4 separate regions of the Homo sapiens genome follow, and all the other regions are linked to region 2. The links are contacts of gene promoters, found by promoter capture Hi-C in human tissues and cell types (Jung and others, 2019). All regions are on one chromosome and are shown on one strand. Each heading gives the region's core, a stretch centred on a gene start or on the middle of the fragment in contact. The rest is flanking DNA. Distances are from core to core; before and after follow the strand shown. Region 1 holds the start of SLC52A3 (solute carrier family 52 member 3). Region 2 holds the start of ANGPT4 (angiopoietin 4). Region 3 has its middle 16 kb from the start of SLC52A3. Region 4 has its middle 37 kb from the start of PSMF1.

Evidence for each region. Contacts are between HindIII fragments. The study calls those that stand out against the background at their distance.
Region 1: the fragment with the promoter of SLC52A3 here is called in contact with the fragment with the promoter of ANGPT4 in region 2 in 2 of the 25 tissues and cell types used here (H1 embryonic stem cells and mesenchymal stem cells).
Region 3: a fragment that was not itself captured here is called in contact with the fragment with the promoter of ANGPT4 in region 2 in 2 of the 25 tissues and cell types used here (adrenal gland and lymphoblastoid cells).
Region 4: a contact is called between a fragment that was not itself captured here and the fragment with the promoter of ANGPT4 in region 2, in 3 of the 25 tissues and cell types used here (IMR-90 fibroblasts, lymphoblastoid cells and mesenchymal stem cells).

What each region holds. Positions count from the first base shown.
Region 1 is chr20:765,739-772,668 of GRCh38, reverse strand. It overlaps SLC52A3 (solute carrier family 52 member 3), which reads left to right and starts at 4,169. Exons shown (of 5, transcript NM_033409.4): 1 at 4,169-4,372; 2 at 6,844-6,930. The coding sequence starts at 6,895. RefSeq lists an enhancer at 3,495-3,994. The HindIII fragment of the contact is 8,066 bases long and covers 1-6,930 here.
Region 2 is chr20:913,385-920,753 of GRCh38, reverse strand. ANGPT4 (angiopoietin 4) reads left to right here and starts at 4,420. Exons shown (of 9, transcript NM_015985.4): 1 at 4,420-4,848. The coding sequence starts at 4,540. LOC105372492 (a long non-coding RNA gene) reads right to left here and starts at 7,315. Exons shown (of 3, transcript XR_937185.3): 1 at 7,074-7,315; 2 at 3,333-3,428. The HindIII fragment of the contact is 12,950 bases long and covers 1-7,369 here.
Region 3 is chr20:781,124-788,201 of GRCh38, reverse strand. No RefSeq gene overlaps it. Among named protein-coding and RNA genes, the nearest start is that of SLC52A3, 16 kb to the right of the region's middle. The HindIII fragment of the contact is 3,684 bases long and covers 853-4,536 here.
Region 4 is chr20:1,077,911-1,085,378 of GRCh38, reverse strand. No RefSeq gene overlaps it. Among named protein-coding and RNA genes, the nearest start is that of PSMF1, 37 kb to the left of the region's middle. The HindIII fragment of the contact is 3,614 bases long and covers 700-4,313 here.

The sequences.
Region 1 (6,930 bases), core at 2,920-5,419, 150 kb after region 2:
TACTGGTTAAAATGAATAAATAAGAACTGCAAGGTCACTGTAAAATAAACAAACAAACAACAACAACAAAAAAAAAAAAAACAGAAAATACAGATATGCATCTTTTAAAAGTATCCCAACACATTCCGAACACCAGCCATTCTGAGTCTCTCCTTTTCTCTGGGGCCTTTTTGCACATGTAGTTCCCTCTGCCTAAGACATCCCCTTCATTGACATTAATGACTGTTCCTCACTGTGTCCCCGAGGTCCAAAAGCACACCTCACTTTTGAGGAAGGAGATAATTTGGGAGTGGGCCAGGGCCATAGGGCAGATGGGTCACGTGGGGACACACCCCCACTGTGCCTGGTTTCCAGACAAGGAAACAGACCCCCGGAGCCAAATCCCATCCCTCAAGTGACACAGCCGTGGTAGCACCTGGGTCAAAACCAGAGAATTCGTCTTTGTGGGGAGCAGGGATTTAGGCGTTCAGAGCTTAGGAGTTGTCGAACATACAAGAAAGTGAGGCTACTTCTGCCCTGTCTGCCCTCATCTCCCCATCCAGCCCTCTGTGGGAAAGCTACTGATGTTTGTAAATGTTTAACTGGACACTCTCATTAGTTTAATAGCTTTTCATATGGCAAAGGTCACCATCATCTGCAAATTCGCCTACTCCCCTTAACTACTGACTTAGCCCTCTTTACTAGGTATATCATTTATTGCTTTTGCTATATCCTTGTTTATTTTGCACCTTCGTCTGCTGTCTTGACCTGGAAGGGTGAGTCAGGCCTGTACTGCTGGACTGTGCTTCTGTCCATTTCTCCTGGAATGTCTGAGGCTATTTCAGGAAATATTCAGAATACAGATAGTCACTACAATTTTGACTCCTTTATGAATTAGAGTTTTGATATATGAAATGACTCTTGGTCTCAATTTATACTTTTGGTACCAAATGCTATATGGAGGGTTCTGTGTTCCTCTGTTCCTCCCTCTTTCTCTCTTCTCCTTTTTTTTTTTTTTTTCATATCTCTGCAAGACATTTGCCCCCAAGGGTCTAAACAACTACTTTTGTTAAATTTTGATTTTTGATCAAATCCTGGTTGGGACAGGACCTAAGTTTCAGAGTCAGAAAGTAGGTGGTAAAGGAGATAAATGTATTCATTAGTTTTTGGTTACTATAATCTTTCAATATATATCCTGGAATGTGTATCTCTGTGCACTTAGTATGGAGTAGTTTTTGTCTGTTTGTTTCTTTTAGTTTTTTGAGACAAGAGTCTTGCTTTGTCGCCGAGGCTAGAGTGCACTGGCGTGCTCTTGGCTCACTACAACCTCCACATCCCGAGTTCAAGCAATTCTCCTGCTTCAGCCTCCCGAGTAGCTAGAATTACAGGTGCCCACCACCATACCTGGCTAATTTTTTGTGTTTTTGGTAAAGACAGGGTTTTACCATGTTGACCAGTTGGAGGCTGGTCTTGAACTCCTGACCTCAAGTGATCTGCCAACATCAGCCTCCCAAAGTGCTGGAATTATACGAGTGAGCCACTGCACCCAGCCTCTGAGTACTTTTGTTGTACATAAAATAAGAGTGACTTAAACAACATAGAAGTTTCTTTTACAATTTAACAACAACATTAAACAAACAAACAAAACAGTTCAACACAGGCAAAACAGGGCTGGTATGGGTGCTCTCTGCCACAAAATCCCAAAGGAGCCTAGTATGCATCTAACCCCCACCACATGCCTCATAGCACAAAATCGTTGCTGGAGTTCTGGCCATCACATCTGATTCCAGACAGCCAAATGGAGGAAGAGCAGAAGGGCACACTCCCTTATTGTTAACTCTTTCCCTGTTTGCCAGAAGGAATACCCACTTGTGACTGCAGTGTTTACCCCAAGATAACTTTGCCACAAAATACCTCGCTTTTATTATTATTTTTGCCTTGCTCTAGTATATTGACTTTGGAAACAAAAGACATCACTCTATTTGTAGCATTCTGGTTTTAGTCGTGGTATTTCCATTTACAAAACAAAGTAATTCTCGATCGCTGAAAATAGCAAATCCTAGCATTCCTATGTGTGATGTTAACATTGTTCTTGAACAGTTGTTGACCAAAGATTCGTTTGATGAATCCAGTTTTTCTGAAATAGATGAGTCTGATGTTAGTTCTGGTTAGAAATAACTTCAAAAACAGTTTTTACATGTTATTTTCACATTGAAAATCAGTCAGATTTAGGGCTGGGCTTGGTGGCTCACGCCTGCAATCCCAGCACTCTGGGAGGCTGAGGCGTGGGGATCACTTGAACCCAGGAGTTCGAGACCAGCCTGGCAACATGGAGAAACCCCGTCTCTACTAAGAAATATAAAAAATTAGCCGGACATTGTGGTGCACGCCTGTAATCCCAGCTACTAAGGAGACTGAGGCACGAGAACTGCTTGAACTCGGGAGGCGGAGGTTGCTGTGAGCCGAGATCAAGCCACTGTAGTCCAGCCTGGGCTACACAGTAAGACTCTGTCTCAAAAGAAAAAAAAAAAAAACAGCAGTCAGAATCAGATTTGCTTCAGCCTCAAATAGCACGTTTACATAAAATTAAATGAGTGCTGGCAACGAGCTGCACTTTTTTTTCTAAACAGGAAACGGGCTAAGGAGACTACTCAAAGTCGCATTTGAATTCATTGGCCTGTGCTTGATGACATGGCCATGTGCAGCTACAAAGAAGGCTGGGAAATGTAGTCCTTTAGTTGAGTGGCCATTTGTCTAACAAAAACTGCGCCTTTTTTTTATTTTTTCTTTTTTAAGATGGAGTCTCGCTCTGTTGCCCAGGCTGGAGTGCAGTGGCATGATCTCGGCTCACTGCAACCTCCACCTCCCAGGTTGGAGCCGTTCTCCGGCCTCAGCCTCCTGAGTAGCTGGGATTACAGGTGTGCGCCACCATGCTGGGCTAATTTTTGTATTTTTAGTAGAGACGGGGTTTTGCCATGTTGGCCAGGCCAGTCTCGGACTCATGACCTCAAGGGATCCGCCCGCCTCATCCTCCCAAAGTGCTAGGATTACAGACGTGAGCCACCGCGCCTGGCCAATAACTACATGTTTTTGAATGCAACTGATACGTTTGCTGAAATAGTAATCTTATAATGATGGTTCATTGAGCCCTCACTATGTGGCAGGCACAGTTTTAGCACTTTAGTGCATGTTCCTAGCAACAGTTCTGATGTTGGTACTGACAGCCTATAGCTGTTTTGCAAGAGAAGACTCTGAAGCACAGGAGGTTAGGTCACTTGCTCAGCTTGTAAGGGTTGAAGCTGGGATTTGAACCCAGGCAACTGGTTCCAGATGTTACCGCAGGGGAGAGCTCCAAGATGGCCCGAGTCTAGAACAGAGAAAGAGGCCAAAGTGGGGGGCCACTTCTTCCAAAATATTCCTGAGAAGCCAGAAATGCTGAAGGTTGCTTGCCATCCCCTCCACTGCTGATTACAGTAACAAATTGTTAAACACACTGGGCAAACCAAAGTAATATATCTGCTGTCTGGCAGTGGCCAGTGAGTTAACAATTTACAAATCCTAAGCTAAGTCATTGAGAAAGGCCCTTCCACCTTCAAAATGTCAGATTCCCAAGCAGCCCCTGCCCTCAAAAAGCTTCAGTCTCAAGGTATGTGCCTGCATGCACCCACACAAGAACAACCTGAAATGAAGGGGTCATGGGCCCTGGTGAGGACGCCTGAGAAGGTGAGGCAGCCAGAGGTCTCCTGGAGGACGGAGTCTTGTAGAAAGCTTGGATGTGGACAGCAGAGGGGGCTGGTGCTCCAGGCTGGGAGGACAGCACAGGCAAAGGTGTGCCACTGCTGTCTGGGAGCTTCCCCTCCCTCCTTGGGTCCTCTTGGCACGCCTGGAGTGGGCCTCACCTGTGCTATTAGTCAAGTCAGCTTCCTAAGGGAGGGAATGGAGTCTGAGGCCCCCAGAAGGGAGGGGGCAGAGCGGGACTGCTAGGGGATCTGACTGCGTTACACCCCAGGAGTGGCTCCTCCCAGAGAGGAAAAGGAGGTGACCAGAAAGGCCACTGAGCATTGGGTTCGCTCAGTGAAGGTATGAGGAAGGAAGTCCCAGCCCTGTGAGGGAATTCCGTGTGTGGGAACCGTGGGGAGGAGCTGCCAGGATTCAGGAGTTTCCTGGGTGAGGCGTGGCCACAACGGACACTCCTGCTTTGTACTAGAAGGAAGAAGTATGGAGTTAAAGACTGCAGCGTGAACTGAGGAGTCCCGGACAGGCCGCTTGCTGCAGAGGATCCAGTCCAGATCCCAGGAGAGCCCCTCTGCCCCTTCGGACCTCGTCTCCCATCTACAAAACGTGAAGATTGGCCCAGTTAGCGTGTCTCTACAAAAAGGTGCATATACCACTGGTGAGTTCACTTGATACCTAGTAGGGGAATCTTTTCCTTTTTTAAATTTTCATAGTCATGTATTAATTCTCATGTGAATTAGACAAAAATAACGATGTCACCAAACCTGCCATTTCACGATAATGATCAGTAACCCTTAGAGGTGCTTACCCTATGCTGGGACTGTTGGAAACAGCATAAACTCACCAGCATCCTTATATCTCACAACAAACCACGGAGTTCATACTATCACTATCCCCTACTTACAGATGAGGAGATGAGGCAGAGAGAGGCAAAGCCACTTGCCCAGGGTCACCCAGATTGTAAGCAGCAGAGCCAGGGTCAAACTCAAACAGCTGGCTCCAGAGCCTCACTCCTGGCATCTCCCATATTACTGCTCAGACTAAGGATAGATAGAAGAAAGTTGTTAGTAACAGCACAGGTGGGCTGCCACTGGTAGCTGACAAAGGGGTAAACAGATGGCAGAATGGCTCTGGAGGGCTAGAGGAAGTGGTCTCCAAAGGCCACGTAGAGAGTGATATAATTTCAGGAGGAAAAAAAGCCAGATTGAAATCTTATTTCAGGTAACCATATATTTGCATCAGGTAATATGTTTACATGGTTCACAAATCAAAACTCTTATTAAAAGATATACAGAGGCAGGGCCAGGAGCGGTGGCTCATGCCTGTAATCCCAGCACTTTGGGAGGCTGAGGAGGGTGGATCACAAGATCAGGAGATTGAGACCATCCTGGCTAACACGGAGAAACCCCATCTCTAATAAAAATACAAAAAATTAGCTGGGCGTAGTGGTGGGCGCCTGTAGTCCCAGCTACTTGGGAGGCTGAGGCAGGAGAATCACTTGAACCCGGGAGGTAGAGGTTGCAGTGAGCTGAGATTGTGCCACTTCACTCCAGCCTGGTGACAGAGTAAGACTCTGTCACAAGAAAAAAAAAAAAGATATACAGAGGCATCACCAACATCCCTGCAGTCCCTGTGTGTCCTTCAAGGGTTGCTTTGTGCAAGTACAAGCAAAGAAAACATGTTTTTCCTCCTCTTCTATGACCAAAAGGCAGTACACTTTTTCCTGGTTCCATTTACCTGCCTTGATTTTGTTTCAAGATTATTATTATAGCCTGGAGACCTTTCCTTATCAGTCACCAAGATCTGCTTTCCTTATTTCTTATTCCTTTAAACAGGTATGTGGTATTCCAGCAGGTCCCTTTAATTAGCCCCCTCTCTGTTGGTAGCCACCCAGGAGAAAATTTCCCATAACTTGCTATTACCAACAAGATCGCAATCTATAATAACCTTGAACATGAGTCATTTTGTCAGGCTTTGGGACAATCTCATGGTGAGAAATGGCACCTGGAGTAGTTTTCCTATTGTGAATGAAGGTGATAATATTTTCATGTGTTTAAAGCTTATTTGTACCTTTTTCTCTGAATTGTTCATATCCTTGGCCCTCTTCTATATGGGGTCTCTTTGTTCTTGATTTTTAAAAACTCTTTATATATTAGGAATGTCACGCGCGTCCATGTGAAGAGACCATCAAACAGGCTTTGTGTGAGCAACAAGGCTGTTTATTTCACCTGGGTGCAGGCGGGCTGAGTCCGAAAAGAGAGTCAGCGAAGGGAGATAGGGGTGGGGCAGTTTTATAGGATTTGGGTAGGTAGTGGAAAATTACAGTCAAAGGGGGTTGTTCCCTGGCGGGCAGGGGTGGGGGTCACAAGGTGCTCAGTAGGGGAGCTTCTGAGCCAGGAGAAGGAATTTCACAAGGTAATATCATCAGTTAAGGCAGGAACCGGCCATTTTCACTTCTTTTGTGATTCTTCAGTTACTTCAGGCCATCTGGATGTACACGCGCAGGCTTGGGCTCAGAGGCCTGACAAGGAAGATGAGCCCTTTGTCTGTGATTTATGTGGCAAATGTTTTCCCCGTGTTTTCATTTAACTTTTGACCTTGCTGTTGGTATCTTTTGCAGAAGCTGCTTTGTTTGCTTTTGTGTGTCGGATTGAACTTTTCTTTCATGAATCACGGTTAGGAAAGGCTTCTCTTGTTTTCTGCTAATAAAAAGACAGCTTGGGCCAGGCGTGGTGGCTCACACTGTAATCCCAGCACTTTGGGAGGCCGAGGCAGGCGGATCACCTGAGGCCAGGAGTTCGAGACCAGCCTGACCAACGTGGGGAAACCCTGTTTCCACTAAAAATACAAAATTAGCTGGCATGGTGGCATGCACCTGTAATCCCAGCTATTTGGGAAACTGAGGCAGGAGAATCACTTGAGCCCAGGAGGCAGAGGGTCACTGAGCCGAGATCATCCCATTGCACTCCAGCCTGGACTAAAAGAGTGAAACTATGTCTCAAAGGAAAAAAAAAAAAGCCAGCTTGTTCACAGGAAGGGGAGTAATAAGAGAAAACTCTGGGCCCCAGGTCCCAGCATCTTGCTAGGTGGTGAAGCTGGAATTACTCACCTGGTGTCCTTCTCTGCCAGCCCCGCTGCAGGCTGATCTGAGAAAGCCTCTGGCCCAGGGCAGATACCGCCATGGCCTTCCTGATGCACCTGCTGGTCTGCGTCTTC
Region 2 (7,369 bases), core at 3,171-5,670:
GAGTCAGGGTGCAGGCAGGCAGGTGCTTTATGCCCAACAACTCCACCCGCCTCCTGATCATTCTACTCCAGGTTTTCTTGAGCGTCACTGTACCCCACCCTTAGTCCCTTCCGATCCTGTGAGGTTGACCTGCTCCAAGGCTCCAGGCCTGGACACAGGATCCAGCCTGACCATCCACAGTAGCTCCTTCCTCTGGCTATAATAGTTGGTTCAGGAATGACTGTACGGCTCAAGCTGGAACTTTTCCAAGAACTATTAGGAAAGAGGCACTCTTAAAAGAGGTTACTGAGTTGATAGATTGGAGCTGCTGTTGCCAGTAGTGGTGGTGATTATGGTGGGAACTCTTACAGAATGAACCCAAAGGAAAATAAGGAAATGAAGGAAAATAAGAGCCTGGAGTTGGAGGAAAAAAAAAAAATCTAATATCATTTGAGCACCTGGATCCAGCCATGCCTGAAGCTCGATACCCCTAAAATTTTCAGTTAAATTGGCCAATAAATTCCCTTTTTACCCAAGCTATTTGAACAAAAGCCAAAGTATCCAGGTGGATATAAGTTTATTCTCCGTTCTCTACCTCCATGGTAGCAGCAGACAATGGGAAAATCAACATGGGTTGGTTTGTTTTTAGGATTTGGAGGCCAGACACTCAGAACAACTCACACAGAACTTCCTGCTGCCCCTGCTGGAGAGGAAAGGGGACTGCCTTCCTCTCTGCTTTGGGCCTGCAGCTCCTATTCATTCAACATAACACTCATGAGGACCCACTGTGAGCCTAACCTTAGGACAGGCAACAAACACAGAAATGGAAAGTGTGACAGCAAACCTAGAAGAGTGTTCAGTCTAGACGGTGACCAAGGCCTGCAAACAAGCCTTTCTAATGCAGGATGAGTGCTTTGGTGAGGGACAGGCAGGCAGGGGCCTTTGAGCTCCCAGAGGCAGAAGGCCTACTCCCATTGAAGTGGGAGGGACAGATGCAGAAAGCCTTCCCAGAGGAGGTGATCCCTGAGATAAGATCAAAAGACAGGCAGAACGAAGCTGGGACAATACAGGTGGGGGGAAGTTTTTAAGCAGAAGTTTCCTGCTAGGAGCATAGACACTGAGGCCTCAGAAGGCGGAAAGCATGCGGGGGAGTAAAACCAATTCCAAATGATAAGGTATAAAGTGCCAGGGAAACAGTGATGAGAATGGAGGCCACATCCGGCAGGGGCTTGTAAACCACAGAAAGAGTTGGAGTTCAAAACTGAAGAATTTTAAACAAAGAAGTCAGGGCTGGATTGTGTCTTAGAAAAATCACTCTGGGCTGGGCATGGTGACTCACACCTGCAATCCTAGAACTTTGGGAGGCCGAGGTGCGTGGATCACCTGAGGTCAGGAGTTTGAGACCAGCCTGGGCAACATAGTGAAACACCGTCTCTACTAAAAATACAAAAATTAGTTGGGCATGGTGGCGTATGCCTGTAATCCCAGCTACTGGGGAAGCTGAGGCAGGAGAATCACGCGAACCGGGGAGATGGAGGTTGCAGTGAGCCAAGATCATGCCACTGCACTATAGCCTGGACAACAGAGCAAGACTCTGTCAAAAAAAAGGAGAAAGAAAGAAAGAAAGAGAAGAAGGAAAGAAAGAAAGAAAAAAGGAAGGAAGGAAGGAAGGAAGGTCACTCTGGTTGCAATAGCAAAGGCCAATTAACCAGAGTTCACTTCTGAGGCTGTTGTTCTCCCTACAAGAGAGGAAGCACCCCGGTCTAAGAGAGTGATGGTGGGGTGTCTTAGCCCATTCAGGTTGCTATAACAAAATGCACTAAGCTGGGGGGCTTATAAACAACAGAAACTTATTTCTCACAGTTCTGGAGGCTGGGAATTCCAAGATCAAGGCACCAGCCGATCTGGTGTCTGGTGAGAGCTCCCTGCTTCATAGACGGTGCTTTCTTACTGCAACGTCACCTAGCAAAAGGGAAGGCCAGCTGTCTAGGACATGTTTGATAGGAGCGTTAATCTCATTCCCAAGGCAGAGTCCTCACGAGCTATTCACTCCCAAAGGCCCCACCTTCTAATACCATCACCTTGTTGACTAAGTTTCAATAGATCAATTTGGGGGCACACAAACATTCATATCATAGCAGGGAGTAATGATGACAGCTGTCACTGGTTGAGCATGTATTATGTGAAAGGCTCTGTGTTAACCTCACTGCAGGAATCGGTCTTTTAGCCACTGTAACATCACTATTTTGACAGAAGAGGAAACTGAGAGACAGGTTAGGCAACTTGGCAAAAGGCACACAAATAGGGGGTCAGGAAAGCCAAGATTCCGATCCAGATGTGCTGGCTCCAGCATTCTGAGTAGTGAAGAGGTGACAGAGGGGGAAATATCTAAAGGATCATGTTGGAAGAACAGGTCTGATTGGATGGTAAGGTCAGGAGCAGAGTGAGGGATGAGGGAAGCCTCATGTTTCCCAGGCAGGGCCTGCTACCTAATTTGTGGAACTCAATGAAGAATGCAAGTGCTGAGTACTTTGTTCCAAATGTATTAAGAATTTCAAGACAGTGCTGGCAGAGTGTAAACCAAGCATGGGGCCCATCTAAGCTTGGGGCCTGGTGTAACTGCCTCGTTGGGATTATCAAGCAGCTCAGTCAAGACAATCATAATGACGACCACCATTCACACTGCCCTTCTCTGCACCCAGAGCTGTGATAAGCTATCAGTCCACATTACTCTCACATGGTCAGGGTGCTATGACCCCATTTACAGCTGAGGCAACTGGGGCCAAGCGGGGCACGCAGAGCTCAGAGCATGTGGGAAGGCTCAGGGGAGGCTGGAGGCTGATAACCAGCTGCTTTTCCTTTGCCTGCAAAAGCCCCACACCTGGTATAATGTTCTCAGTCCCCAGATGAGACCACAGTTCACAGCTGCCCAGAAGCAGCCTGCCCCAATTCAAAACTCTATCGGGATTTGAGAGAACAAAAAGGAAAATACTAAACAGCCAGACTGGCCCCTACTCTGAGGAAACAAGCAGGGAGAGAGGAAAAGCCCAAACAGCTGGCAGAACATAAAGGCAGCCCATGCAGGAAAGGCCCCACCAACTCCTGGGCACCTTCTGCCTGGAGACCATGTCCCCCAGGGACAAATCCCTGCCCTAGAGGAGTTTATGCTCCAGTGGGTCGTGGGAGGGGAGGTGCAATGACAACTATAACATTGACAACGGAAAATATTTATTTAGTGCTCGCTCTGTGCCAACCTTGCTCTAACTCACCTAATTTTCATGCCATGTGAAGTAGGTGGTATTATTTTCCTCATTCAGGAGGAAATGAAGGCACAGAGAGGTTAAGTGACTTACTCAAAGTCATACAGCTGGTAGATGGTAGAGCCAGGATTTGAACCCAGAAGCTGAAAACTTCTCCATCCCCATGCTGAGGACTCACACGCATTCCTCCTGCAAGAGATAAGGTTTACCCAGTTTACAGATCAGGGTGTGGAGGCCCAGAGAGGCACAGCTGCCCACCCTAGGTCTCGTGGCCAGCTGTCGGGGAGCGAGATCTAGGGTTAGCCTCCTGGCACTCCAACCTCCTCTCCCCACTGCCTCCTCTCCACATCCCCACTCCAGCAGCCCCAGGACAATCTGCCCCAGGACATGACAACTTCTCATTACTGTTACAAGCAACCAAGCCAGGGCCATCCTGGGGCATACCACTTTCCCCTGGCCCTGAGGGAGAAGAGAGGACAGGAAGCAACTCCCAGCTGGGTTGCTCACTTGCCCCACCTTGGAAGGATTTTCTGTGTCTCCAGAGGCAAAGTGGATTCGCTGGGCCCTCCCCAGCCTCACCCCTCTGCCTCCTCCCCTCCCTCTGCTCTCTCCGGGGGTCACTTGTACTCCAAGCGCTAACATGGAACCAGAGGGAGGAAGGTGCAGCGGGGAGAGAAGGGGATGGCAGCGGGACTGAAACTTGAGATCTTAGACTTGGGGGGCAGGGGATGGGGGTGGAGGGAAAGAGGGAGACCAAGACAGAGACAGGAAGGGAGAGTTAAGTTGCATTTGGTTTTCCAAAGCGGGCAGCATTGGAGCTTGGCGTTTGTGTGTACATGAATGTGTGTGCGTGTCAGCGTGCGTGTGAGTGTGTGCTCGTGAGTGTGTGCATGAGTGTGTGCGCGTGTCTGTGTGCTGTTTTCTTCCCTCCCCTCCAGCAGGGAAGCCAGGCCTCACTGGATAATCAGAGGGCTCAGAGGTGAGGCAGACAGAGCAAGGTTGGTGCACGCTTAGGGTAAGGGCGACGTGCCACCAAGACTGAGGAAGGAGGAAGGGAAGGAGTGAAGAATAGAGGTGAGAGGGTGTCGGGTGGGGCCGGAGGGAGGCGGTGAGAGGAAGCAAGCAGAGCAGCCGTGGTATTCAGAGCAAGTATAAATAGCTGCCTGGACAGAGCTCGGCCAGACAGAGGTTTGTAGCTGCAGCTGCAGGCAAGCCTGGCCACTGTTGGCTGCAGCAGGACATCCCAGGCACAGCCCCTAGGGCTCTGAGCAGACATCCCTCGCCATTGACACATCTTCAGATGCTCTCCCAGCTAGCCATGCTGCAGGGCAGCCTCCTCCTTGTGGTTGCCACCATGTCTGTGGCTCAACAGACAAGGCAGGAGGCGGATAGGGGCTGCGAGACACTTGTAGTCCAGCACGGCCACTGTAGCTACACCTTCTTGCTGCCCAAGTCTGAGCCCTGCCCTCCGGGGCCTGAGGTCTCCAGGGACTCCAACACCCTCCAGAGAGAATCACTGGCCAACCCACTGCACCTGGGGAAGTTGCCCACCCAGCAGGTGAAACAGCTGGAGCAGGCACTGCAGAACAACACGCAGTGGCTGAAGAAGGTACGGGGCATGGGAGGTTTGCAGGGGGCAGAGGGCGGCTTTGGGGTCTGTCACAATCAGCAGGTGGAGTGTCCATCCAAGAGGCCTTCCCTGAGCACAGAGGGCTGTCTCTGAGCTGCACAAAGAGGGGCAGGGGTGGGTCTGAGGCCACACAGCAAGATTGGGCAATGTCAGCTGGCAACCTGGCTCTTTAACTGCCGTCCCTTCATTCATCCAACAGAAATCCATTCAGCCCTGACCAAGGGCTGAACGGACCAAGCCTTCCTGGGTGCTGGGGATACGACAGTATAGTATGTCTCCCTCTGGACTAGTAGGGGAAAGAGGCAGTAAGAGATAATCTACTATGTCAGATGGTGAAGCAAAATGAAGAAGAAAGAGGGCAAGTGGCGGCCCTGGGTGGCTGCTTGAGGTCAGATCATTAGAGAGTACTTCTCAGAGGAGGTGACATTTGAACCCAGAGAACAAGGGAAATGATAGAGTGGGCCAGGCAGGTATTTGAGGGAACGTTCTGCAAAGGGAGCTGCATGTATTTTGACCGTGAGGAGGGAATGCATCCGCAGCGGTGTGTGCCTGGAGAACCATGGGGCGAAGGCCTGTGTAGCTGGAGCAGAGGAGAGGGAGCAAGGGTGCGGGGAGGTCTGAGAGGTGACAGCAGGGCAGGCCATGCAGCTGGGGGGGGGGCCACTGGAAGGACTTCAGCTTTTGTTCTGAGTGTCATGGGAGCCACTGCAAGGTTGTGAGCAGAGACAGACACCCGTGATTCGATTTCAACAGCATAGACTGTAGGAGGCAGGGTGGAAGGAAGAAGCCCAAAGAGGTGGCCGCTGCAGCCATCAGGTGCAAGGTACCGGAGGCCTGGAGCAGAACGGGGCTAGGAGGGGGTGTGGCCAGTAAGATTCTGGTGGGTTCTGGAGGTAGAGCCCATCAGCTCTGCTGGTGAATTGGATGCGGAGTGGGAGGAAGCAAGGAGCTGAGGATGCCACTGTGGTTTTGGCCCAAGACCAGGGCTGCTGTAGAATGCCCTGTCATGCTTTCGTCTTTCAGCAGTGTGAGCACCTATTGTGTACCCTCGGAGAAGCACTGACTACAGAGGTGTGCAAAGCAGGCTTGGCCCTGGCGGGGCATGAGGGTACAGGAGACATCCTGGGGGGTCTGAGATGGGACTCTTCAGAGTCCCTAAGTGAGAGCTACCAAGGAAAGGGAGAGGGACCCAGGAGACAGTCTGGGCGATGACTGAGGAATGAAGGATGCGAACTAATTCCTGGAGTTTTAGAAGGTATTAAACAGCAGACAAGCTTGACAACCACCTCTGGCTCCAGGCAGGATAGCTGTCCTGGCTGCCCCCCTGGCTCCCTGCTAACACTCGGCCCCCACCTCCTGTTCTCCATGCAGCAGACCAAAGAATCCCCATCAAAACCTAAGTTACATCCTCTCCCTCCTCCCAGGGCTAACCATGCATCCGAATAAAAGCAAGAACCCTTACTCCCTGGAGTTCCCTCTCCCAGACTCCCACTTTGCTTACCCCAGCCTCCTATCCTCTCCAGCGCCATCTCCCCAGAGGCCCTCCTTGTCCTCCCCGTACGAAATAACCACCTTCCTCTTCCACCCTTTGTCCCTCTGCTGGCTTTGTTGTGTTTTTTTTTCTTAGAACTTATCCCTACCTAATGTTCTTAAAAACATTTCTTTTGGTGTGTGAGCTCCCAGAGGGCAGGCGCCATGTCTCTTTTGCTCACTTCTGGGTTCCCAGGGCCTAGAATAGTGCCGAACACACAGTAGGTACTCAATAAATGTCTGTAGCATGAGTGAATGCATGAATGCATAAATGTCCTTCCAATCTCTCAGGTCCCAGGTCTCCATCCTGCTCCGTGATGACACAAAATTGGCATTGATGGGATCCTGAGCCCAAAACCCATGACCTGGATCTCCCCCAACACCTCCCTGAGGGTCCATGGGTGTCTCAACTCCAAAGCTGCCTGAGACGACTCCCTGCTCTTCTCCAAACACCCTCCTCCTGCCTGTCTGTCTCTGTTTAGGGTGACACCACCACCCAGCCACAGGCTGTGCCCTGGGGGCTTCCTGTGGCTCCCACCTATCCCCCAGGCAGCTGGCCCAGCCCATCCTGTGGCCTAGGCTTCTCTCATGGTCCATCTTTCTGGCTTAGGCCTCGTCATCTTTCCCAGGATGCTGTCATCACCTCCCACTGGGCCTCCTACCCCAAGTCTCACCTCTCACTCTCATCCATCTTTGAATCCCCTGGGTGTCGGATGCTTGGGAAACATTGGCTGAGAGCTGATGGCTTGAACTGATGGCTTGCAGGATCAGAAGGTCACCTGGTCCAGTGCCTCAGCTTGGGGTGGAATGTCCTCTCCAGGCATCCATTCACCTAGCCTGAAAATTCTGAGCTAGGGTCAGTCAGGTCACCGTAGAGTGCCGTAGGGCCTAAGATCTCTGATATGGGAGTTCAGCTGACCTGGCTGCAGGTACTTCCTTACCAAATGGCTACAGATGAGCAGGTTTCGGT
Region 3 (7,078 bases), core at 1,445-3,944, 130 kb after region 2:
CTAAAGAGAATTCAGAAGGAAAATGGATATTGCTAGACCAGAGAGAAATGTTATCCAAACCCCTTATGAGGGAAGTCTTATTCCAACTGCATTAAAGGACCCATTGGAGGCCCCAAGCCTCGTGTGACACATTCATCAGAGTTTATGGGTGCATAGGATTTATACCCTGGCCAAACAGGTTACAGACAGTTGTTTAGTAAAACATTACCCCTTGGGGGAAGGAGTCCAGGCTTAAGGCCATTCCAAAGTATCCAGACTGACTACACAGAGATGCCTCCAACTGATCATCTGAAGTATTTATTAGTATAGTAGATCACCTTACTCATTGGATAGAAGCTATTTCCTTTTCAAGTACAACTGATAATAACATAGACAGGGCATTAGTTGAAAATCTTATACTCAAGTTTAGATTAATAGAAAACATTGATTCAGATAATAAGACTCATTTCACTGTACATGTCATTAAGAAATTAGCCCAGATACTGGATATAACATGGGAATATCATACTCCCTGGCACCTACCTTCATCAAGAAGAGTGGAAAGAATGAACCAAACTATTTTTTAAAAAAGCCCTTTGGCAGGAGAATGGCGTGAACCCGGGAGGCGGTGCTTGCAGTGAGCCGAGATCGCGCCACTGCGCTCCAGCCTGGGCTACGGAGAGAGACCCTGTCAAAAAAAAAAAAAAAAAGCCCTTTGGGAGGCCAAGGCGGGTGGATCACGAGGTCAGGAGTTCGAGACCAGCCTGGCCAATATGGTGAAACCCCATCTCTACTAAAAATACAAAAATTAGCCAGGCATGGTGGCGCGTGCCTGTAGTCCCAGCTACTAGGGAGGCTGAGGCAGAAGAATCACTTGAACCCGGGAGGTGGAGGTTGCAGTGAGCTCAGATGGCACCATTGCACTCCAGCCTGGGCGACAGAGCGAGACTCCCTCTCAAAAAAAAAAAAAAAAAAAAAAAAAAGGCCACCTAACCAAATTAGTCTTAGAGACTCGGTTGCCATGGATAGATGCTCTCCCATTGCCCTCTTGAGAGTCTGAACTGCTCCTCAGAGAGATGTTGGCTTATCCCCTTATGAAATGTTGTGTAGGTTGCCCTGTTTACACTCCACTGCTGACATTCCTATGTTCAAAACAAAAGATGAGTTTCTCAGAAATTATATACTTGGTTTATTTTCCACTTTCTCTTCCCTCAGAACTAAAGGTCTTTTAGAACAGGTACCACCCCTACAGTTTCCAGTACACCAACATCAGCTTAAGGACTGTGTCCTTGTCAAAAGTTGGAGGGAAGGGAAACTCGAACTGGCTTGGGAAGGACCCTACCTGTTGCTTCTAACCACCGAGACCACAGTTCAAACAGCAGAAAGAGGATGGACTCATCACACCTAGGTCAAAAGAGCACCACCCCCTCCAGAATCATGGACAGCTATTCCAGGGCCAACTCCAACCAAGCTAAAGCTAAAACGGGTTTGATCCTCTTACATTCCATCTCTTTCTTTTCCCCTTCTATTGCTAGTCTTCTCGTTCTTTATGTAACAAGTTCGCCCCAAACTATTACTTTTGATGCTTGCCTTGGGATGACCTGTGGAGATCTGCCAAACCAGAGGCAACTCTCCCCTTCAGAAAAGTATCTTTGTCCTTCCTGGCTCTCCTCAGACTGAAAATCTGTTAACTGGGATCAGTTAGTCTGGGAAGATATTGATGATGGTCCCAGTATGAACTAGGAATCTTGCCCTCCTAGAACAGAACTTTTAGCTGGTCTAATGGCTTATGGACTACCAAGGAGCAAGGATGGACCACCCCATTGTCAGATGAACCAATGTAATCCAGTACAGATTACCACCTCTGCTCCCCAGAGTACCGTTTCTATGGTATAGGAGCAGAAGTCTCAGGGAAGGACCCCAGAGGATCCTTTGAAATGTGCTTCATTGCCTCCTCAACTCCTGCACCCCCTTCTCCCACTCCTAAGTTCTCCACTAACCAGATCTTCTTTCGTTATATACCCAATGATAAAACCAAAGTAGCTGTTGTAGAAGTTATAGATTTAAAACAAACTATAGCAATTGAAACAGAGTACCAGGATGTAAATGCTTGGCTGAAATGGATTAAATATTCTGTTCGCATGCTAAACAAAAGTGACTGCTTGTGCGACAGGCAGGCCAGAGACCCAAATTGTCCCCTTTCCCCTCGAGTGGTCCTCTCATGGACAGGGCATGAGCTGTATGGTAGCTCTCTTCCAGAACCCCACAGCCGGGGCAATGAGTCAGGCAAAACTCTTTCACTGCTGTTCGCTTTCACTGCTCTTCCCCGAGGTCAAGAGCCCTGTGGGTCAGCCCGGAGGGCCATCCAGCCTCCAGCCCCTGATGTTAAGTTCACCTGTCCCTTTCACGGCAGGGGGAAAAGTTAGCATTCCTTGGAGACTTAACAGGGTGCGGTGAAACCAAGCCTTTTCAAGAGCTTACCCATCAGTCTGCCCTTGTTCATCCCTGAGCAGGTGTGTGGTGGCATTGAGGGGCACTATTGCTGGATACTCTGCCAAGCAATTAGAGCAGCACTCGTGCTCTAGTCCAATTGGCCATCCCTTTCACTCTAGCATTCCGTCAACATGATAAAAAAGAAAATTGTAAAAGAAGTGCCTTACATGAGTCGTTTGACCCCCATGTTTATATAAACATTACTGGAGTTCCACTAGGAGTACCAGATGAATTTAAAGCCCGAGATCAAATAGCTGCAGGATTTAAGTCAATATTTTCATGGGTGACGATTAATAAAAATGTAGACTGGATAAATTACATCTATTATAATCAGCAGCAGTTTATTAATTACACCAGGGATGCTGTCAAAGGGATAGCAGAACAATTGGGGCCCACTAGCCAGATGGCCTGGGAAAACAGAATGGCACCAGATATGATATTAGCAGAAAAAGTGGTGTTTGTATTATGATTAAAACTCAGTGTTGTACCTTTATCCCAAATAACACTGCCCACACTGGGAACATAACAAGGGCCTTATAAAGACTTACCACTCTATCCAATGAACTAGCTAAAATTCTGGAGTCGATAACCCTTTCTCAGGGTGGCTAGAAAGGGGGTTCAGTAAATGGAAAGAAATCACAGCCTCAATTCTTACTTCTCTTGCAGCCGTAATAGCTGTACTCATTCTTGTTAGGTGTTATGTCATACCATGCATCTGTGGGCTAGTGCAAAGACTTATAAAAGCAGCACTTACTAAAATCTTCCTTAACTCACCTCCACCTTATTCAGATAAGCTTTTTCTTTTAGAGGATTAAGTCGAGCAGCTAAGCCAAGACATGTTTAAAAAGTTTGAAGAGGAAGTACTATGAAAATTGAAAGGGGGAAATTGTAGGATATAACAAATTCCTTTTCAAATGTTTCAGCCTGTAAATTGTTAAGTACAATGAGTTCTGAGATCCTCTCCAAGGAACCAATGTATGAGTATATTCAGGTCCCCTGTTCTTTGTTCTCCATTTTAAAGTTTAACTTTCTCATTCTCTTTGCCTCCTTGCCCCTAGTTTCAGTAAACAACCTTTTCCACCAGTTCTAATCAGTAGTTCACATCTATTCCCCTGATCACCTGCTCCTTCTTGAGTCACCCCTGGTCACCTGCACTGACCTGAGTCACCTTTAGTCACCTGTTCCTAACTGTCCTTCCCGCCAAACTACTCACTCCGCTACTCCGACTCGTACCCCTGCTCTCTTTAAAACAGCCAATCGGAATTAGCTTAGACTGTGTGGTCCAATCCTAGTCAACAGGGGAACCACACAGCAGTAGGGGCTACCTGCATCAGGAATAAAAACCCCTTCCCCTCCCTTGTTCAGGTGTGCTCTCACCATTGTTCCATCCACAAGTCACACCCTTCTATAGAAGTAAAATTGCCTTGCTGAGAAAATTAAATTTATGTTCGAGTGCTATTTCTTTTGCAGCACTGAAAATTTGCGCCTAACAAAGGTGTTGTAAGAGTTCAAGAAAGAGGAAAGAAACATGAAAAGAGGCTCAACAGTCAAAGACAGGTTTATTTTGAAGAATAAACCTGAGAGGGGCCTCTGTCCAATTTCAGTCAGGAATGCTCTCTCTTACATACTAAGGGTATTTACTGGTTTCTGGGTAAGAGAGCTTATCACAGGCTTGGAATGTTCCTGTGTAGGGGAGAAGTCTATTGAGGGTTGGAATGTCTCTGGTTGGAAGGGACGGTATCTTGGGGCTGACATCTCTCCACCTGGAGGGGAGGTTATCTTGGGGCTGGCACGTCTCTGGTCGGGGAGGGCTTTAACTTATGGTTGGAATGTTTCTGGTCAGAGATGTCATTTGTGGTTTATGGTCATGCTGACCTTAGCCATTAGGCTGATGCCCTTTGGATTTAGGTGGTTTTTGATCAAGGGGAACTTTAGAATGGCAGTGCTTGTCCAAGATGGCAATGCTCCTGCTCTGTCAATCCAGACCTTATAGTTATAAAAAGGATGAAAGGCAGGGTGTTCTTTCTGGCTACTTCCTGCTGATGAGGGGACAGAGTTTTCTGGTCTTGGATTAACTGTAGCAGTAACGCTGTCTGTGGATGTTTTTGGGTAGTTGTCTGTGAAATGGCCATGATCCTGTCAGTTAAAAATCTTTGAAAAAGGTTAATTAGGCAGGGTAAGAACATTAGTCCTAGGCATATTATTAGGAAAGGTCCCAGGAATGGGATGACCCATGCTATGATTTTGTTCCTAAACCAAGAATCTATTTGGTTGTTTTGGTATAGCCCTTTCCTTAAGTTTTTCAACAGCACCTCTTACTAGGCCTAATTGGTTGATATAGAAACAACATTCCTCACCCAATGACAGGCAGAGGCACATGTCTGGAAAGGCCCATGTGTTATTTGCTGTTAGTAACTGTTATTCCTGCTATGAGGATAATAATTAAGCAAAATGGTACCATAATTGAGATTCTCTGTCTGATATTCCATCCTGAGGGTGCTGTAGTACATAGTCCCACTGCAAATAATAGAGTGTGTAAAGCAGTTCCCACAATGGTGGTGTAGTGAATAATTTCCATTAAAAAGTTTTAATATTTGTCTTAAAAGGAGAGGTAGGAACATCTAAAAGTATTTGGTGAGGTAGGGGTGAGACTGAGTAAGATAAGTAGTTCTCACTCAGTTACTTACCTTTTATGAGCTTAAAATTTCCTATTTCTTTACACTGATATTTAGGATGTTCCTTTGGCTATCAGGGGTTGCTTCCTCAGCTTTCCAGGCTTTGACTCGAGTGTAATGTATCCAGATGTTGATTCCTGTTTTTTTGTTTTGTTTCGTTTTTTAAGATGGAGTCTCGCTCTGTCGCCAGTCTGGAGTGCAATGGCGCGATCTCGGCTCACCACAACTTCCACCTCCTGGGTTCAAGTGATTATCATGCCTCAGCCTCCCGAATAACTGGGATTACAGGCATGCACCACCATGCCCAGCTAACTTTTTTATATTTTTGGTAGAGATGGGGTTTCACCATGTTGGCCAGGCTGGTCTCAGACTCCTGACCTCAAGTGATCCACTCACCTTGGCCTCCCAAAGTGTTGGGATTACAGGCGTGAGCCACCGCACCTGACCCAGAAGTTGATTCTTGTAAGAGATGCCATCTCAATTACCCTGGGTTCCATGGACTTATTAGATGTGGGGGCAAAGGATTCCAGGCACGCTCAGTTATTAGTTGTCAGCTCCAGCAGTGAAGAGGTTTCCTCCTGTGATGGCTGGGGGGCGTTTAGAGGCAGTGCCTGCTGAAACGTCTAGTTTTCAGTTCATAGGGCTTTAAGAAAACAAAGCTTATTTTGGAAACTCGTAGTCAGAAAAATTAGAATTTAATTTAAAGTAATAAAAATTGAACAACATTAGGCAACACTGGAATTTAATAACAGGTGTGTTATAGTTTCTGAAATGTAATTTTCTCTCTCCAGTTTCCCATTTTTTCCCCCCCAAGATGGAGTCTCGCTCTTGTCACCCAGGCTGGAGTGCAGTGGTGCAATCTAAGCTCACCGCAACCTCTGCCTCCCGGGTTCAAGTGATTCTCCTGCCTCAGCCTCCCGAGTAGGTGGGATTGCAAGCACCCACCACCACGCCCAGCTAATTTTTGTATTTTTGTAGAGACAGGGTTTTGCCATGTTGGCAAGGCTTGTCTCAAACTCCTGACCTCAGGTGATCTACCTGCCTCGGCCTCCCAAAGTGCTGGGACTACAGGCGTGAGCCACCACACCCAGCCAAGAATAATTATTTGTTACGTAGGCCTTAAAAAAAAAAGTTAACAGTGTAACATGTATTTAAGACTATTGAAAAAACAGTTTACATATACTTTTGGTAAAAAGATTATAAGGAGGCATGAGAATGTGGATTTTTACCTAGATTAAAAGGTTAAAGAATTGTTTTAAGTTGAATAAAATAAAAATGAAGGTTTAAGCAACTTTTGGAAGGTTAATTGTAAAGGAAATACTGTGTGTAAACATCTTGGCTAAAGTTAAAGGTGTATCATCCAGTTTTTCTGTAAATTGAGTATTAAAATAAAAGCACAATGGGTTTTTCTTAAAGCACTAACCTGCTCTTTGACAAAAATTATAAAGGGTTAAAAATGGTCTATAGGCCAGCCGCAATGGCTCACGCCTGTAATCCCAGCACTTTGGGAGGCCGAGGCAGGCGGATCACGAGGTCAGGAGATGAAGACCATCCTGGCTAACACGGTGAAACCCCATCTCTACTAAAAACACAAAAAATTAGCCAGGCATGGTGGTGGGCACCTGTAGTCCCAGCTACTCAGGAGGCTGAGGCAGAAGAATAGCTTGAACCCAGGAGGTGGAGGTTGCAGTGAGCCAAGATTGCTCCACTGCACTCTGTCGCCCACGACAGAGCGAGACTCTGTCTCAAAAAAAAAAAAGGGTCCATGAAAATCTGACCTTATGATCAAAACATTAAAATTGAGTTTAACATTAATAACACACTAATATAAAGGTAAAATTTGGCTTATTTGGTATGAAGTCATACAGGAAGCATTGTCAAATATAAAATAATGTTTGGCTTTCTTTGGGCCATATTTGTATAAATATGTT
Region 4 (7,468 bases), core at 1,257-3,756, 170 kb before region 2:
GAGTGAGGAAATTCCCCCATATGCCCCTTTCTTGCCTATTCCTCTCACATCTCTGTCCAGAACTTGGTCCAATGTCTCTTACTAAGCTAATTGCTAGTCAGGGAAAGGAACCAACATGGTTGGCTTAGACCAACATGGTTCTTAAACTTGAAGTACATCATTGTCTTACGTGGGGGGCTTGTTAAAGTCCAGATTTCTGATTCCTATCTCCAGAGTTTCTGATTTAGTAGGTCTGAGAGGGTATCTGAAAATTTGCATCTCAGGGAAATGTTCTGCTCCACTATCTATACACGTAATATCAGAGAAAGTTTGCTGGGGGAAAAGTAATCAAGGGAGGCTTCTTGGACGAGGGATCATAAGTTAAGACTTAAAGCTTAAGGATGGAAAAGATGTGTTAGGATGGTGGCAGGAAGGAATGCCCTTAGTGAGAAACAAATGGCCAAAAAGATGGTAAGTGGAAAATGAGGAGGTGTGGTGTGGAGTAAAATGGAGAGGATTGGATTGGGTAGGTACTGTGGTTTCAACTGATGAAGGGCTTTCATCATTAGCTCCAGAATCCAGGAGTTGATTTTGGAGGCAAGAGGAAGGTAGGTTAAGAGCTTGGTCTTTATTGCCAGACTTGTGATTCAAGTCCTGGCTCCATCATTCATTTATTCATTCATTTATATTTTTGCTGTGGTTTTTCTGAGCAAGTCAATTTCTCTCTCCTAGCCTTTATTTTCTCTCAGATATAAAATGGGAACTGATGATGCCTCTCTCAGAGGGGTCATTATAGGATTTAAATAATACATGCACCTAGTGCTAAATCCATGATAGCTGAGAGAAAAATACTCATTTTGAGAAAAACCTGTATCCTCATCTCTCATGACATGTTAATTGGTGGGCTGAGGTTCATCACCAAATAACTTCAAGAAATACTGAGTTAGTAAAGGTTTCTTTACTGTAGGACTTTGCAGAGACTTTAATATGCTAATATGAGGGATGAATCTCATGAGAAAGACAGTGACCTGCAGCATTTCCCCAAGCTTGTTTTGCTCACAAAATGCTTTTTTAAAAATATAAATTATTGTAAACATTTTTGGGAATGCTCATGTTTAGCAGAACAATGAGAAACCAATGTAAAGCATCTAGGTACTATTTTACAAAAAGTTTTCATTTATGTTTTAATGAAGCATAAAAATGGCAGCATTTTGTCAATTCATTAGGTTATACTTCTGTGTTAGTCAGTTTCCCTAAGTTATGCTGGCATAACTAATAACCGTCAAATCTCCCTGGCTTACAACAACAAATATTTATTTCTTATTCACCTTACACTCAGGACTGGCTGCAGCTCTGGCCAAATCCTCTTCTTCCTGGGACCCAGCTGATAAAACAACCCTATTTGGAATACACTATTCTGGTGGAAGGCAGAGAAAAGCCACAGTGGAAACGTGGTGGCTCTTAAGGCTTCTGCTTAGAAGTGGCATTACCTCACTCAGGTCATATATCATTGGCCAAAGTAAGTCACATGTCCAGGCCTGATGTCAATGGCACAGGAAGTATAATTCTCTTATAGGGAGCAAGAGAGAGCTTTGGGAACTAAAAATACGGTCCATTCTGTTGTTAAAAGAAAAACTTTAGACAAATTAAATTTAGCAGAGTTTATTTGGGCAAAAAAGTGATTCATGAATTGGGCAGTACTCAGAGCTAGAAGAGGTTCAGAGAGCTCCACTTTAGCAGTTGAGCTGCAGGCTTTTATAGGGTGAATGTGGAAGCAAAGCAAAGACATTGCTTGACTGGCTACAAGTAGGTGTTTGCCTTATTTGGGCACGATCTGGTGGAAAGTCCCTAGAGGTTAGTTGGCGGTTTCAAATTAGCTAAGTCTCCAGGATCATTTTACGGTTTACATTAGGCTTTGATTTGCTTACATAGGAACCCAAAGCACTGGAGCTATCTCAGCATAATGGCACCTCAACTTAAAAATATTAACACTGTCATTTTGAAAATAGCCACCCTGTTTTAAAATACTGCCTAATTTGCATTGTTCATTAATTTAGTTTTGTCTAAAATTGGATTATATTGTAAATTAAATAGCGAAGAAAATGATCATATTTATAATATTGAGACATCTCATCCATGAATTTGCCATATTTCACCATTTACTTAGGCCTTCATGTCCCTCAATACAGTTTTCTTTTCTTTTCTTGGTACCTCACAGTTTATGAAGTATATTTAATTCTCCAGAAACTCTCTAAGTTGCTAAGTTGCTATTTTGATTATTCTCTCATTTTTTTCTTTTTTTTTTTTTTGAGACAGGGTCTCACTCTGTCACCCAGGCCAGAGTGCAGTGGCGTGATCTCGGCTCACTGCAGCCTCTGCCTCCTGGGTTCAAGTGATTCTTGTGCCTCAGCCTCCTGAGTAGCTGGGACTACAGGCACGCACCACCATGCCCAGCTAAGTTTTGTATTTTTAGTAGAGATGGGGTTTCACCATGTTGCCTAAGCTGGTCTTGAAATCCTGACCTCAAATGATCTGCCCACCTAGGGCTCCCAAAGTGCTGGGATTACAGGAGTGAGCCACCATGCCCAGCCGATTATTATTATTTGATAAATGAAGAAATTGTGGTTTACAGAGAGCCCAAGTCCATTTTACTTCTAAATAAAGCTTAGGTCCAAGGGCTGATTCAGGTGCGTGTGACAAAACCAATCAAAGTGTTTTTCAAAACTGAGAAACCCAGACATGGCTGAATCTGTAGGATCTTATTGGTGTCCTAGGTGCACTCTTCCTACCTTTATCTCTCAGCTTGGGTGTCTTGTTTGTTCACGTCATTCTCAAGCAGATATTCCCCATATGACAAAAGGATAGTTGTCAGAGGTTCATTGCCATTGGCAACCCTAGAGAAAACCTGAGACTGTCTTTCCCCGAGCATCCATGTCAATCCCTGAGAAGGACTCTAATTGGTCAGCCTGGCCTGGTGCTCACTCTTGCATAGGACCACATGATTGACAGCCCCATTAAAATCATTTGGAGAGGTAGGGGGAGAGTTCCCTAAAGGGAACGAAGGGCTGAAGGAGAATGATGCTAGGTGGCCAGAATGAATGGCAGATGCCCACTGTATCGTGCAGTCCCCACTGCCCTTCACTGGGGTGTGGAGGGAGGAGGCTTGCATCCTGTGTTGGCTTTGCTAGTAGTAATTTTGTCATATTGTAACTTCTGGGACTCTTACTTTGCTCATATGGCAAATGGGGAGCCTAACCACACAGGTGGGAAACAAATGAGGAAACGCATGGAAAAGGAGATCTGCAAAATAAAGCACTCTGTAAGAAATTGCTTGCATCATCATTGGCCATAATTAGTGAAGTTATCCCTCAGCTCGAGAACCTTGAATGGTTCCCTACTGCCTGACTCATTAAGTTCATGACACTTTGTGGCACTTGCAGGGCTCTTTAGCGTTTGGTCCCACCTGGCCTACCTCACTTCTGCCTAACCTACCTCCTCCAGTCTAAGCAAGCTGGTCTTCTCTTGTCCTGCTCACTTGCACTTTGAAGCCAATTCCCCAGTTCCACCTAGTATGAAACCACCCATTTTCCTGGGTGTCCCTGGCAAGTTTTGGATTTTCCGTGAAACTCAGTTTTTTCATCTCTTAAACTGGAATAATTGCTTCACAGGGTCATTGTGTGTATTACATAAAAGTGCATTGGCTATCCTTGTTTCCCTTGCATATTCTTTCCTGTGCACTCTTCTAGGGATCACCTCTGAGACAGTGATGCGTAAGGAAGGTATTTCCAACTTGGGAACACTTGGGCCCATCAGAGGCACTTATGACAGATTGCCTGGTGTCTTAGTCTGTTCATGTTGCTTGAACAAACTACCATAGACTGGCTATCTTATAAATAAATAATAGAAATTTATTTCTCATAGTTCTAGAGGTTGGAAGCCCAAGATTAAGGCACTGGCAGATTTGGTGTCTGGTGAGGGCCTTCTTCCTTGTTCATAGTCTTCTTACTGTGTCCTCACATGGCAGAAGGGACAAGAGATCTCCCTGGGACCTCTTTCATAAGGGCACTAACCCCATTTATAAGGGCTTTATCTCCCAAAGGGCTCATTTCCACACACCATCACATTGGAGATTAGGTTTCAACATATGAATTTTGGATGGACACATTGAGTCTATGGCACCTAGAAAAAGAGTGAGATCAGCCCTTTAGGTGCAAGGACTTAAAAAAATGTCCTCCTAGAGAGGAAGAAGAAGGGACCATGGTTGGGGCTTTGGGTCCCTGAGGAAGAGGATGACTCAGCCATGGCGAAGATGTGTTTTGGGGTCAGGCTGTAGCTTGGGATGGGCCCATGTCTGTGGTCAGGGGAGAGGAAGGCTGTGAGCAGGCAGAATGCTGGTGTCTGGACCAGCAGTCCCACATGGCCGTTTGCTCCAGTGGCAGCCCACCCAGGCAGGCACCCTCTGTCTTGGCCCCATACCCATATACATATTCTGGGGATGTTGCTACCTCACTTCACTATGTGAGCTGGGCCATAGTCTACTTCCACCCTTCAGAGATGCTGCCAGCAATGTTCTGGCCAAATCCAGCCTGCAGACCCATTTGGTGTGGCCCACACAGTGTGTGGTGCTTTTATAAATGGCTGCAAATTCATTGATGCTCTTCCATCAAGAGGTGAAGTCTGTGCTCCCCTTCCCTTGGATCTGGGTGGGTATGTGGCTGCTTGACCAGTAGAGTATGGTAGAAGTGACACTATGGAACTGAAGCCAGGCCATAAAAGGCCATGCAGCTTTCATCTGCAGCTCCCACGCTCAGGACACTTCGTCTCAGAACACAGCCACCATGCTGTGGGAAGCTCAGACCACATGGAGAAGCCATGTGTAGGTGCCCCAGTGGACAGTCCCAGCCGAGTCCAGCCTTTGAGTCATCCCAGCCCAGAGAGCAGATATCTGAGTAGAGAAGCCTCTCGATGATTCTAGCTCCAGCTATTTGAATCTTCCCAGCTGAAGCCCCACACACCATGGAGCTGAGTGAAGCCGTCCCCACTTGCCCTGTCCAAACTTGACACGAAGAATCCATGGACATCATAAAATGGTTGCTTGATGTCACTAAATCTGGGGTGATTTGTTACATGGAAATATTAACTGGAAAATAGTGCTTCTAAAATCTGATTTTCATGCCAACATTTAAAGTTGGGAGCTTTCACATGCAAACCTGAATTTCTGACTTTGAATGAAAAATAAAATAAATCTGGCTATACTGGGTTTTCATCCTTGTTTAGCAAAAATTAGTCAGAGTTACCCCCTTGAGAAGGGATATAGATGGCCTGTCTGCTTTGGCCCCCACCTGGCCACCTCTGCTTGTTTAAGTCACAGGGGTCAGGCTACTTGCCTGGTCCCTGTAGGCATGTGGCTATGTTGGCCCTAAGCCAGAACCATCCTGTCACCTCTTGGGATGCCCAAGTTCTCAGAGCCTTTCCTCTCCTTGATGACTTAGACATCCCTGACCTCTGTGGGTGCCCCCCTTTCATCCCTGGAGCTACATAAACCTACAAAACCATGCCAGGTTCTATCCTTCTCTTTGCTTAGAAAACTGCTTATGTGAAACAAAAACCAGCCAGGGCCCTGAGGTGGTGATGGCCATGTCTGGAGCTTGCTTGTCCCTGTAAACAATTTCCTTGTGATAATCTTTTCACTTATCCTCCCAAGCTGGAACTGCTGTGTGAAATCAAGCCGGGTGCCGTTGGCTTATCCTGTACATCTTGGAGTCATTAAGATCTGGCTTTATATTTTAGGGTGAGTTGTCCAGAGCCACTGAGGCCAGGAATTCTAGGATCCTTAACACGTGTCATGGTATTATAGGAACTTAGAAACAAGTCCAGGACAGATCTTATAAACAGCAAGACTTAAAAATCAATCTATCTTAACACCAAATATAGATGAGCCAGGTACAAATTCCAGTGAATATCTTTCTTTATTTTTCCTATACAAACCATTTATTTTTTAAGCTTCCATTCATGCAGCTAGCAGAGACTTAATTAATTAATTAATTAATTCAACAAATGTTTATCAAGGGCCTCTATGTTCCATGAATTTTTTTTGGAGAAAGGAAGAAATATAACCATAGACACATCAGATAAAAATCTCTGCAAATTCAACCCATATTAAAATACGGAGTTTAAGTTGCAAACCAATGAAAGCGACAGATGAAAACCAAATAAACAAATAAATGTATGATAGAATGTCATAGGTGGTGATAAGAGCTCTGAAGAAAAATCAGTCAAGGAGAAGGGCTAGGTAGTGATGGAGAAGGAGTGTTGTTTTATACAGAATGGTCAGAGAAAGTGTCCTGTGAAGGTAACTCTTTTAGAGACCTGGAAGATGTGAGAAAGTGAGGCCAAAGAGGTCGGGCACAGTGGCTCACACCTGTAATCCCAGCACTTTGGGAGGCTGAGGCAGGCAGATCACTTGAGGTCAGGAGTTCGAGACCAGCCTGGCCAACATAGTGAAACCCTGTCTCCACTAAAAATACAAAAAGTAGCCAGGTGTGGTGGCATGCACCTGTAATCCCAGCTACTCGGGAGGCTGAGGTGAGAGAATCGCTTGAACCCGGGAGGCGGAGGTTGCAGAGAGCTGAGATCAGGTTTTTGTACTCCAGAGGCCAAGGAAGCCCTAGGGAAGAAGGCTTCATTTGGGTGGGAACAGAGAAGAGTAGGGATTGAGGTGGCAATCACAGTCAGTTTAAGACTTTTCTTCCCCACCAGCTTGTTTAAGTCCTGAGAGGCTCACAAAATCCCAGAACAGGAAGAACATCTAGTCCTACATGTCATCGCTTCATGCTGGCAGCTCCTGTGCCCTCCTCATCCTGATTTTCAGCCAGGACTATTAGCTTTTGATGCCTCACCTGTGCCACCTTGAAATGCCTGGCTCTCCTCGATTCTCTGACCCACAGAAATCTGCAAGAGGCTGCTCAGAACTGTCTGTGTAGACGCCACCTGTGGAATTACCTCAGTTTCTGTCCTGTGCCAAGAAGGGGGAATCTGAATGGGAGTCAGCCTCTACCTGTCTTTTTTAGTCCTGACATCTCTTTGGAGGGATGGCAGGGAGAAAGTGGAGGGCGGAAGTAGGGCTGGATCTAGTTTTTTGTTGTTTTTGTTTTTGAGACAGGGTCTTACTCTGTTGCCCAGGCTGGAGTGCAGTGGCACAATCTTGACTCACTGCAACCTTCGCCTCCCAGGTTCAAGAGATTCTCACATCCAAGCCTCTGGGATTACAGGCGCCCATCAAATTAGCCCATGTCCGTCTAATTTTTGTATTTTTAGTAGAGACGGGGTTTCACCATGTTGGCCAGGCTGCTCTCGAACTTCTGACCTCAGGTGATCTGCTCTCCTCAGCCTCCCAAAGTGCTGGGATTATAGGTGTGAACCCCTGTGCCCAGGCTTGGTCTAGTTTTATGAGACCTTAAACTTATACTATTTGGGATTACCCCCTTTT